3 separate regions of the Homo sapiens genome follow, and all the other regions are linked to region 1. The links are contacts of gene promoters, found by promoter capture Hi-C in human tissues and cell types (Jung and others, 2019). All regions are on one chromosome and are shown on one strand. The core of a region is centred on a gene start or on the middle of the fragment in contact, and the rest is flanking DNA. Distances in the headings are between cores, read along the strand shown.

Region 1 (3,574 bases), core at 548-3,047:
CATACTTGTTGACTGATGTTAAGTATCAACTTACTGTACAAAGAAGAAATAAAACAAAACCCACAGTAATATATTTCCTTAAGAATACACTGAGTCGGGGCTGGGCACGGTGGCTTACGCCTGTAATCCCAGCACTTTGGGAGGCCGAGGCGGGCGGATCACGAGTTCAGGAGATCGAGACCATCCTGGCTAACACGGTGAAACCCCGTCTCTACTAAAAATACAAAAAATTAGCCAGGCGTGGTGGCGGGCACCTGTAGTCCCAGCTACTCGGGAGACTGAGGCAGGAGAATGGCGTGAACCCGGGAGGCGGAGGTTGCAGTGAGCCGAGATGGTGCCACCGCACTCCGGCCTGGGCGACAGAGCGAGACTCCGTCTCAAAAAAAAAGAATACACTGAGTCGGTTAAATACTAGCACGAGCTGATAAGCACTGCTAGAAACCTAAGCTCTGATTTCAGCAAATGCATAGAAACACTTTTCAAAGAAGCAGTATACCTAGGCCGGCGCGGTGGCTCACGCCTGTAATACCAGCACTTTGGTAGGCCGAAGCGGGCGGATCACTTGAGGTCAGGAGTTCAAGACCAGCCTGGCCAACATGGCGAAACCCCGTCTCTACTAAAAATACAAAACAGCCGGGCGTCGTGACGGGCGCCTGTAATTCCACCTAGTCGGGAGGCTGAGGCAGGAGAATCGCTTGAACCCGGGAAGTGGAGGTTGCAGTGAGCCAAGATCGCACCGCTGCACTCCAGCCTGGGTGACAGAGTGAGACTCTATCTCAGTTAAAAACAATAATAATAATAATAATAATAATAATTAAAAAGTTTTAAAAAAGAAAAGCAGTATACCAAAGTCATTCCTTTACCCATACATACATTTACTCTTACTTGGACTCAGGAGTAACAAGGAACTCACCTCCTTTAGAAAACGAAGAAAATGAAATACTGAGTTAAGAAGGGGTTAAGGAGAAAGTATTTGTATTTATTGAGAACCAACTACTTTATCCACTTCAGTAAGCTCAACAACATACTCAGAAACGGGATTCACCTCTGAATTAGCAAAACCGACGATCCTAAAAAGCAATTTGGAGGAGTGGCAATGAAGAGGGACGACCTGACGTTCGCTCCCGCCAGTACCAAACCACTCGGGCCCACCGCCTTCCCCTTCCTCAGAGACCTAAACACACTGAGGCCGCGTTCCGGTAGCCGGTGGCATCTCCTGTCAGACGCCGGCCACTCCGCGCTCCTGTCACCTCCGGTGGAGGCGACCCCATCCCGAGGGCACTGCCGCGGGGGCTCGGCTCCGACTGCGGGAGACCCAGGGATGGGGTGGGGAGCCGAGCCTTCTAAATAAAGCTGTTACAGCTGCGGGTCCTGGGGCAGCCCGAAGGCCAGAAGGGGCGACCCTGGGACAGAGGCCGCGACATCCCTCGGGATCCCCACTGAGGCAACCGGGACAGCATTCGACGACTCGGCTCGCGAGACCCTCGGCGTGACGCCGGGTAGGACCGGGTCGACTGGCAATGGGGGAGGCCCTCCACCGCGACTGGACTGGATACCCGGCGGGGGTCCTGGAGAAAGGAAGGGCCGGCCGGCGGGCGCCCCACAGCCGGAAGGGGCGAGCCCGCAAATAGGGCTCACCTTCAGGTCGTTCTCTGGCAGGTACTTGCACAGCCGCGCTATTTCCACATACTTGTCCAGGTCTAGCGGCGCCATTTTAAGAATAACAAGCCGCGGCAACAGCGGCGGCGGCGGCTGTAGCAGCGGCGGCGGCAGCGGCGGAGGCCGAAGCCGGAACTTTCCCTGCGTCACGTCCGGCCCGTGAGTGGCGCCTGCGCAGCGCCGTTAAAGCGCGACCCGTTTCTCCCCGCTACGTCGGTACGCCCGGCGCCCCCTCTGGCTGAACCCCGACTGCAGGCCCCAAGAGAGCCCGCTTCGGTCCACCCCGCGAAACCTGCTGGGACCCGTAGTCGTCTGCCGCGGGGGTGCTGGGATGTGTAGTTTTCTGTTGTGGACAGCCACCCCTCTCTTTTCCTCCCGTTCCTCCAGACTTTCACCTCCCGGCAGCCGGCGAGGCTTTTCCGAGGCAAAACAGCGGAGTAGGTGGTCCTAGCCACTCACTGGTTTGTTTTTCCAACCCTTTTAAGCACTCTCCAGAATATCTTCACTTAACAATTGGGTAAGCCTGGCCGTAGTAACCGTTTGCACCTTTCCAAGTCCCTGTGAAAACCTCGCCTAAGCCTGTGGCAGAGATGTCAGGCCCCAGTCTTCCAGCCTGAAAGGAAGGGAAACGAATATTATTAAAGCATTTCTGATGCTAAATGCGATACAAATGATATTTTTCCTTTTAATCTTCGTAACGATTGATAGGAAAGTGAGGCTAGGAAACTGCAGTTCACCCCAAATCTCACAGGGAACAAAATGGTGGGGTCAAGATTGAAAAATGGCTTAAGCTTAAGCATGCTTCCAGTGAGAATCCCACGAGGGCAGGGAGTTTTTTGCTGTAACTCCAGCACCGAGAACAGTACCTGGTACTAGCATACCTTCAGCGTTCGTTTATCCAACCACTCTTTGCTGAGCAACAAAGATGTGCCAGGTACAGCTCAAGGCGCTTGCAGTACTTCGTGAACAAAATAGACAAAGATCTCTATTCTATCTGTAGCTACAAAAAGTACCAAAATTAGCCTGGCGCGGTAGTGCGTGCTTGTGGTCCCAGCTACTCTGGAGGCTGAGGCAGGAGAACCGCTTGAGTTGGGAGGCGGAGGTTGCAGTGAGCTGAGATCGCGGCACTGCACTCCAGCTTGGGCGACAGAGCGAGATCCTCCTCAAAAATAAATTAGTAAAAGGAGCTGCTGTATGGGACTAGGGGTGGGGGTGCAATGCCTATAGCTAAGAGACCAGTTAAGAGACTGTTATGTAATCCAATAGTAGCAGGCGCTCAATAAATATTTGTTGCTCAAGAGACCCTGGAATTAATCCTCTTGCTCTCTAAAGTATATTTTGTGGACAATTGGCTAACCCTGAATGAGATATCTGGGTGAACTTCTTTGTATTATTCTTGTAACTCCTCTGAAAGTATGAAATTGTTTCAAAGTAAAATTAATTTTTAGAAGTTTGTTGCAGAATGAATGATGCCCACAAGCATTCATTTCTTCATTCATTAAACTAATAGTTACATAGTGCCTATTGGCCAGGCCGCGGTGGCTAATGCCTGTAATCTCAGCACTTTGGGAGGCCAAGGCAGGCAGATCACCTGACGTCAGGAGTTCAAGACCAGCCTGGCCAACATGCCGAAACCCCATCTCTACTAAAAATACAAAATACTGGGGAGGCTGAGGCAGGAGGATCACTTGAATTGCTTGAGGCAGAGGTTGCAGTGAGCTGAGATGGCGCCACTGTACTCCAGCCTGGGCCACAGAGTGAAACTCCATCTCAAAGAGAAAAGAAACCAGAGGTTACACAGTGCTTATGATGTGAATAAAACAGATATGATCCCTGCCCTAATCAGGCTTACAATCTGCTGGGAAGAGACAAACAGTATTTATTTATTTATTTACATTTACTGGTTTATTATTAA
Region 2 (3,574 bases), core at 333-2,832, 160 kb before region 1:
CATCCAAGCCTTTTTTGATGCCAACCCATATTACACATTATCCTCATTCTTTGAAGGGACTCTCCAAACAGCATTCCATCCAGTGAAATCCTCTCCCAGGACTAGGCCACTTCCTCAAATCCATACAGTCCTTTGGCCCATTTCTTTAATTTCTGTCCTCACAGAACTGAGGAATGCACTAATCCATACGAATCTTCAGGGGATGTTAATGAATTATGTTTTACAAGGGACTTTTTAAGAAAACATTTCTACCTGAGAAAACACTTCTAGTTTTACAAGGGACTTTTTAAGAAAATATTCTACCCAAGAGAGTGATTTTAGTGGTGGGAATTTGGAGCGGTATGCCAAAATGTAGGAAATGGAAGAAGTTTTATTGCCTTTTCTTTTCTTTTCTTTTTTCTAATTTTTTATTTTTTGAGACAGAGTTTCACTCTTGTTGCCCAGGCTGGAGTGCCAATGGCATGATCTCGGCTCACTGCAACCTCTGCCTCCCAGGTTCAAGCAATTTTCCTCCCTCAGCCTCCCAAGTAGCTGGGATTACAGGCACCTGCCACCACACTTGGCTAATTTTTTTGTCTTTTTAGTAGAGACGGGGTTTCACTAGGCTGGTCTCAAACTCCTGACCTCAGGTGATCCACCTGCCTTGGCCTCCCAAAGTCCTAGGATTACAGGCGTGAGCCACCACGCCCAGCCATTTTATTGCCTTTTAGATTACAAATGGTCCAAGCCTTTTTTATTGTATACCTGATTATCACTTCAGGATGATGACATTTAGATTCCTAAAAGGACCCTTCTTGTTTTCTGAACTCAGGGATGGGACTATATAGATGTTAGTGCTCTAAGGATATAATAAAAAATATCTTTCAAACATATCCTGCAAGTATGAGTTTTTTAAAGTATCCTTCTGAAAACCATTCATTCACATATACAAGTTATAATACAATGCTACACATTATTAAGACAAGTGAAGCTGCAAGAACAATAAATCCTTTAGTATTAATCGTTTATCTAAAACCAAGATCAAATTTTTAAGTTATAAATGAGTCTGACCAAATGAAGTGTTTGGGAGGCAAGCCTTTAAAACAAATAGTACTTTGACTATGGAAGGTTATTGCACAACATTGTCTTGATCAATCTGGTCCGAACTACTAGAGTTTCATTTGTAACTCGTGATTTTCATGCCTAGCAATGAGTATACTATGTATGTATACTTCTGCATGCTGTGTTTTAATCAGACAACACTTTACTCTTTCCATGTGTAATTTACTTACTAATAATGATAGTATAGCTGCCCAATCTTGGAAGCAATTTCTCCTATTTGCCAGCGCTTCAAGCCATACCGATTATCCAAGACTTGTCTGTTTTATATAGGATACAAGAAAATAGAAATGAGTCTATAAATTCCAAAACTAATCAAATCTGTAAATTCAATAGGATAAAATACCATCCAATTCAGCAAAGCTAATGAATTTTTCATTAGATTTCAATGTAGTCATTCCATTAAATTTAAAAAGCATTTATTAAATGTCTATTTATAAGTTGAAATATAAAAAGAAACTACTTTGGCCAATAAACATATATTTTAGAATGAAACCATAAATCATCCTACCTATGCTCTAGCTGATCTGAACCATTCCACATATAATATTGTCTTTAAAAATCGGACAAGAACATTACTCTTTTTTTTCCTTTTTTGAGACAGAGTGTGGCTCTGTTGCCCAGGCTGGAGTACAGTGGCATGATCTGGGCTCACTGCAACCTCCGCCTCTCAGGTTCCAGCAATTCTGCTGCCTCAGTCTCCTGAATAGCTGGGATTACAGGTGTGCACCACCATGCCCGACTAATTTTTATATTTTTAGTAGAGACAGGGTTTCACCATGTTAGCCAGGCTGGTCTTGAACTCCTAACCTCAAGTTATCCACCCACCTCAGACTCCTAAAGTGCTGGGATTACAGACAGGAGCCACTGCACCCAGCCTTATTTTATTATTTATTTTTATTTATTTATTTACTTTTTTGAGACAGGGTCTCTCTCTGTTGCCCAAGCTGGAATGCAGTGATGCAATCTCTGCTCACTGCAACCTCCCCCACTTCAGGGTTCAAGCGATTCTCGTGCCACAGCCTCCTAAGTAGCTGGGATTACAGCTGAGCACCACCACACCTGGCTAATTTTTGTGTATTTTGTAGAGATAGGGTTTAGCCATGCTGCCAAGGCTGGTCTCAAACTCCTGAGCTCAAGCAATCCTCCCACCTTGGCCTCCCAAAGTGCTGGGATTACAGGCATGAGCCACCATGCCTGGCCATACATTTTAAGATCTTAAATAAATAGGAAAGAAATAAATTTGTTTTCATTTGGGTTATAAAGATGAAATATGTTATTTTAAAAGCACCAAGATTTACCTTTGCTTTGTTGGTGAAAAAAAAGAAAAAGCACCAAGACAAAAAGCACTGAAGTAGTGAAGATAAAAACTGTGACTAATACAAAACAGGCCTTCACTCTCCTTTAACTATAAAATTCATTTACCGATGCTGCTGCTGGAACTTCCAGAGTTTGGTGTAAACATCAAAAGTTCTTCCAAAATAGGACTGCCACTGCTTCTGTCCATATTGTGGCAAATCTCTGTAATAGTAAATGAGTATGTATTAATATTAAACTTCTTATTCTATTTGGAAATTATGTCTTGTGATGGTACAAACCAGACAGATGAAAAATGCTTGCATTCAGGCTTTCTTTTTTAAAAAAGTTACACTTTTTGGAGCAGAAATAATTCTATAACTAGGGTCCAGGACATGCTCTTTTCCTATTCTCCTCCCTACTTCTCTGACAGGTCGTTCTTAGTGTTCTTTGCAGATGCTTCTCCCATGAGGTTTCTGGTCCTCTCTTCCCTCTCCCTCGGTGATCTTATTCACACTCACTTATATACTGACAACTTCCAAATGTTTATCTTCAGCTAAGAACTCAGCTGAATGTTTGAAAAACACTGCTTTAGAAAATATACCTAGAAATCGATATGTAGATGGTATTACTGTTCTGCACTATTCTATCCTCTCCCTATAAGATAAATATACATCCCTGTCCTTGAACCTGGTGACTTATAGTACAGTCTTTGAGAGGCAAATACTCCCTACCATACAAACATTGGGCCTGGCCGTATTAACTTCCTTTGGCCAATGAAATATAATTGTAAGTTATTTATATCATATCTTAGGAGAAAATTAAGAGCACTGAGTGTTTCAGCATTTTCAATTTTCCCTCTGACCTAAGACAAAGATAGGGCTGTTCTTCAGCCTGGAACACTGAGTAAGACACATTTAACAGTGCCCCAAAACCACAGACAACTTGTAGCTAACATGGGAGCTAGAAACACATCTTTACTGTAGGAAGGCACTACAATTTGAGGGTTGTTACAGCAGCCTTACTTCGGAAAAGCTAGTCCAGAAACTGGTAATAGGAGTACGTTATTGCCATAACAAACATGTAACATATGTGACACCTGCAATTGCGACTGAGTAGCAAGTAACTGTTACTGAAGGCTGGAAACAATGATGACCTATATAATGCAATGGTAACACTG
Region 3 (3,574 bases), core at 288-2,787, 130 kb before region 1:
ATAACATTTAAAAATTGAAAACAACCTAAAGGCCCCAAAGACTAAAATGGTTAGGAATACTGACCACTGCACTCTACCCAATCACTAACTTACAACTCTGTTTAAGAAGGTGAGGCAATGGTATGAGTACACTTCAGTATAAAAGGGATATAAAATCACACACACACATATACATACACACACACGTACACACACAGACGTATATTAAAACTATATTGAAACTATCTCCACTTGTAATAAATTTCATAAAGCTGCCATGTAAAAACAGAAAACAACAGTAAGTTGTCAGACAGTATGTACAATACAAACCTAAATTTTAAAAACTGATTTGTGTTTACACACAGACAGAAATTCCTGGAACAACAGGAAAATTTGGTCCTGGTGTAGGATGTAAAAATAGGCAGACAAAATATAGTCACTGAAATAATGTGATACAATTGGTGAAATAATGAATTTTAATAGATGGACTGAAGAACAGAAAGGATACAGTTGAACAAATAAATAAGCTAAAATATCAGATTTGGGGTACTCTGCCAAAAGACAGTAGAAAGAGATTAAATATATAAAAGAAAAAGCAAGAGATAAGATAGAGAAATGAGGGAAATCAACTGCCACACAATAGCTTACACAGGAGGAGAGAAAAACACAAATGAGAGTGAAGAAATATTTGCAGAAATAATGACTAAATTTCCCAGAATTAGAGAAAATGTAACACCTAAAATTGAAAGGACTCAAAGAATGTCAAAATAATCCCACAGCTAGAACCATTAAAGTAAAACTTAGGAAATCAGAATTCTCTTCCCTTCCTGAAAAATTCACTCTTATAGCCACCAAGTGGGTATCCACATCACAGGGTACCTGCATGGTTGTCGGAATATAAGCTACGTGAGGAGGCCATTCGCAGGCAGAGCCAGCTTGCACAGGATGTTGAAGGCCGAGTGTGGAGGAGGAGGAGGGCACCCATGAGGGTGGAGGACTGGCAGGGAAAGTAGGAGCCTGAGCACCTCCACATAGAAGGGTTCAAAGCAGCAATGGGAGATTTGCTATATAAAGAGGGAAGGATCAAATAAGATCTATTAAGGGCAGATGCAGTGGCTCACGCCTGTAATCCCAGCACTTTGGGAGGCAGAAGCAGGAGGATCACTTGAGGCTAGGAGTTTGAGACCTGCCTGGGCAATACAGTGAGATCTTGTCTCTACAAAAAATGTAAAAATTAGCCAGATGTGGTGGCAGGTGCCTACTCAGCTACCTCAGATACTCAGGAGGCTGAGGCAGGAGAGTCGACTGAGGCCAGCAGTTCAAGGGTGCAGAGAGCTATGATCCCTCCACTGCACTTCAGCCTGAGTGACAGAATGAGACCCCATTTCTTTAAAAAAAAAAAATTCTTTTTTAAAAAAGATTTATTAAAGGCAATGGGACCCAGAGTTCTCACTTGGCAGAGAAGGGAGATGCAAATATGGAAATGGAAGAAGTTAGAATGAACTCTGTGGATTGAAACTGGGCCAGGTACAGTGGCTCATGCCTGTAATCCCAGCACTCTGGGAGGCCAAGGTGGGTGGATCATTTGAGGTCAGGAGTTTGAGACCAGCCTGGGCAACATGGTGAAACCCATCTCCACCAAAAAATACAAAAATTAGCCCAGCATGGTGGGGTGTGCCTGCAGTCCCCAGCTACTAGGAAGGCTGAGGCAGGAGAATCACGTGAACCCGGGAGGCGGAGGTTGAGGTGAGCTGAGATCATGCCACTGTACTTCAGCCTGGGCGACAGAACGAGACTGCGTTTCAAAAAAAATAAACTGTAAGTATGAGTGAACTCATGGATTTCTGAAGACATGGACATACATGCATGGTGTGTGTGTCTACATAAGCACACACAGATGCATACTCCCTAGCTCTGTAATTCTATCTACTGAGAGCGCCTTGGAGCAGTGATCATCTTCCCTCCCCAGTGGTATGAACGTTTCTAGCACCTAACACTTGGCCCCTAATACCATTCTCCAATAAAAGGAACCAGACATCTCTGGAGAATTGTAATTCACTAATTACAGCACAGGGGTAGAAAAAGTACAGGATCAATCTGGAATATCTTGTGGTAGTAAGCAAGAAAGTGCTCAAGGAATGCTAAAGAATGTCAAAAAGACATAGGATCAAGCTTGAAGGAGATCCCACTGGCCAAACAGGGTAATTTCAGCATCAATACCAATAGTAATAGCAATGGATTATAACCTACTGAACAAAATAAGAAATCATGAATCAATATAGATATAAATAAATGAGTGAATAAATGGAAAGTGTGGTAGTGAATGGGATAGTTTCAGAATACTTCCCCCATAAACTACACATTACTTCCAAGGGAAAAAGTAATTTCACAGCAGTAAAATCCAGCAGACACTGCCTTGATCAAATGATCAAAGTGAACATCATTAGTAATCAGACAAATCAAAGTCCCATGCGATGAGAAGTACTGTTCCTGTCAAAGTTCTGTAGCCTGAGTCTAATCATGAGGAAACAGACAAAACCAAGTTGGGGGACATTCTACAAAATAACCAACCTGTAATCTTCAAAAATGTCAAGTACTTTCCTTCAAAGACAAGGGAAAACTGAGGTATAATGCCTGATTCTCCCCTGGATCCTTCTGCTGTAAAGGATGTTATTGAGACAACTGGTAAGGCCTGAATGGGGTCTAAGGACTAGACAGGAGTAAATTTCAATGTTAATAAGAAAAATGTTCAACCACCAATGATGAATTGGTGAACAAAATACAAACACAGTAAAATACAGTAACAAAATACAAACCTAATGCAGCAAAATGAGCACATTAAAACTACACTAATTATAGCAGTTGAACATGCACTGAAACCAGCATAGTTGCTAGAGGCAGTGTAAATTAGTTCAAACCCATAAGTTTCCCTGAATGTATGAGGGGACATTAAATGGTCATTCTATGAGATCTATCAATTACACTGCAGAAAATTTATCCTGAGGTTAACTGTCATTACTGGTAAATTACTCATAACACAAGAACTGGTGAAGAATCACTAGCATCTGACATTCTTCAAAATCTATCTTTCCAGTCTCACCTTCCACTAGCACACACGTACCTATTCTCCGACCACAAGGAAATACTTGAAAGCCTCTGAACAAATCCTACTCTTATACAGCATCATGATTTACACGCTATTCCCCTGGCCTATTTTGTACACCTACCAAATTTATATTCATAGTTGAAGACAGCATTCAAACGACAACTTTTCTGTAAAACTTTCCTTGAAAATCTAAATCTTTCCCTGGCACCTACTTCTGATCAAGTCAGTAGGGGCTTCTTCAGTTACTTCACAAAGAGTTGAACAAATATAACAATTATTTGTTTTTTGAAAAGTCTATCTCACCATCTAGACACACACTGTCCAAAAGTGTAGTCATTAGCCTTTTGTCACTATTTGGCACTTGAAACATGGCTACTCTGAATTGAGATGTGCTATAAATGTGAGGTATAAGTGTAAAATATGCCAGATTTAGAAGGCTTAGTATGAAAAAAAAAAAAAAAAGCCATGGCAGATAGTGAAAGGAAACTG

Evidence for each region. The method cuts DNA at HindIII sites, captures the fragments that hold promoters and counts their contacts. A contact is called where the count stands out against the background at its distance.
Region 2: a fragment that was not itself captured here is called in contact with the fragment with the promoter of PPP6C in region 1 in 3 of the 25 tissues and cell types used here (IMR-90 fibroblasts, dorsolateral prefrontal cortex and mesenchymal stem cells).
Region 3: a contact is called between a fragment that was not itself captured here and the fragment with the promoter of PPP6C in region 1, in 2 of the 25 tissues and cell types used here (IMR-90 fibroblasts and dorsolateral prefrontal cortex).

What each region holds. Positions count from the first base shown.
Region 1 is chr9:125,188,006-125,191,579 of GRCh38, forward strand. PPP6C (protein phosphatase 6 catalytic subunit) reads right to left here and starts at 1,798. Exons shown (of 7, transcript NM_002721.5): 1 at 1,639-1,798. The coding sequence starts at 1,713. RefSeq lists enhancers at 1,120-1,906, 1,907-2,693, 1,996-2,075. The HindIII fragment of the contact is 9,567 bases long and covers 1-3,574 here.
Region 2 is chr9:125,027,121-125,030,694 of GRCh38, forward strand. It overlaps SCAI (suppressor of cancer cell invasion), which reads right to left. Exons shown (of 18, transcript NM_001144877.3): 4 at 2,524-2,619; 5 at 1,272-1,358. Among named protein-coding and RNA genes, the nearest start is that of GOLGA1, 88 kb to the left of the region's middle. The HindIII fragment of the contact is 7,974 bases long and covers 1-3,574 here.
Region 3 is chr9:125,056,732-125,060,305 of GRCh38, forward strand. All of the region lies in intron 2 of SCAI (suppressor of cancer cell invasion), which reads right to left. Among named protein-coding and RNA genes, the nearest start is that of SCAI, 85 kb to the right of the region's middle. The HindIII fragment of the contact is 7,319 bases long and covers 1-3,574 here.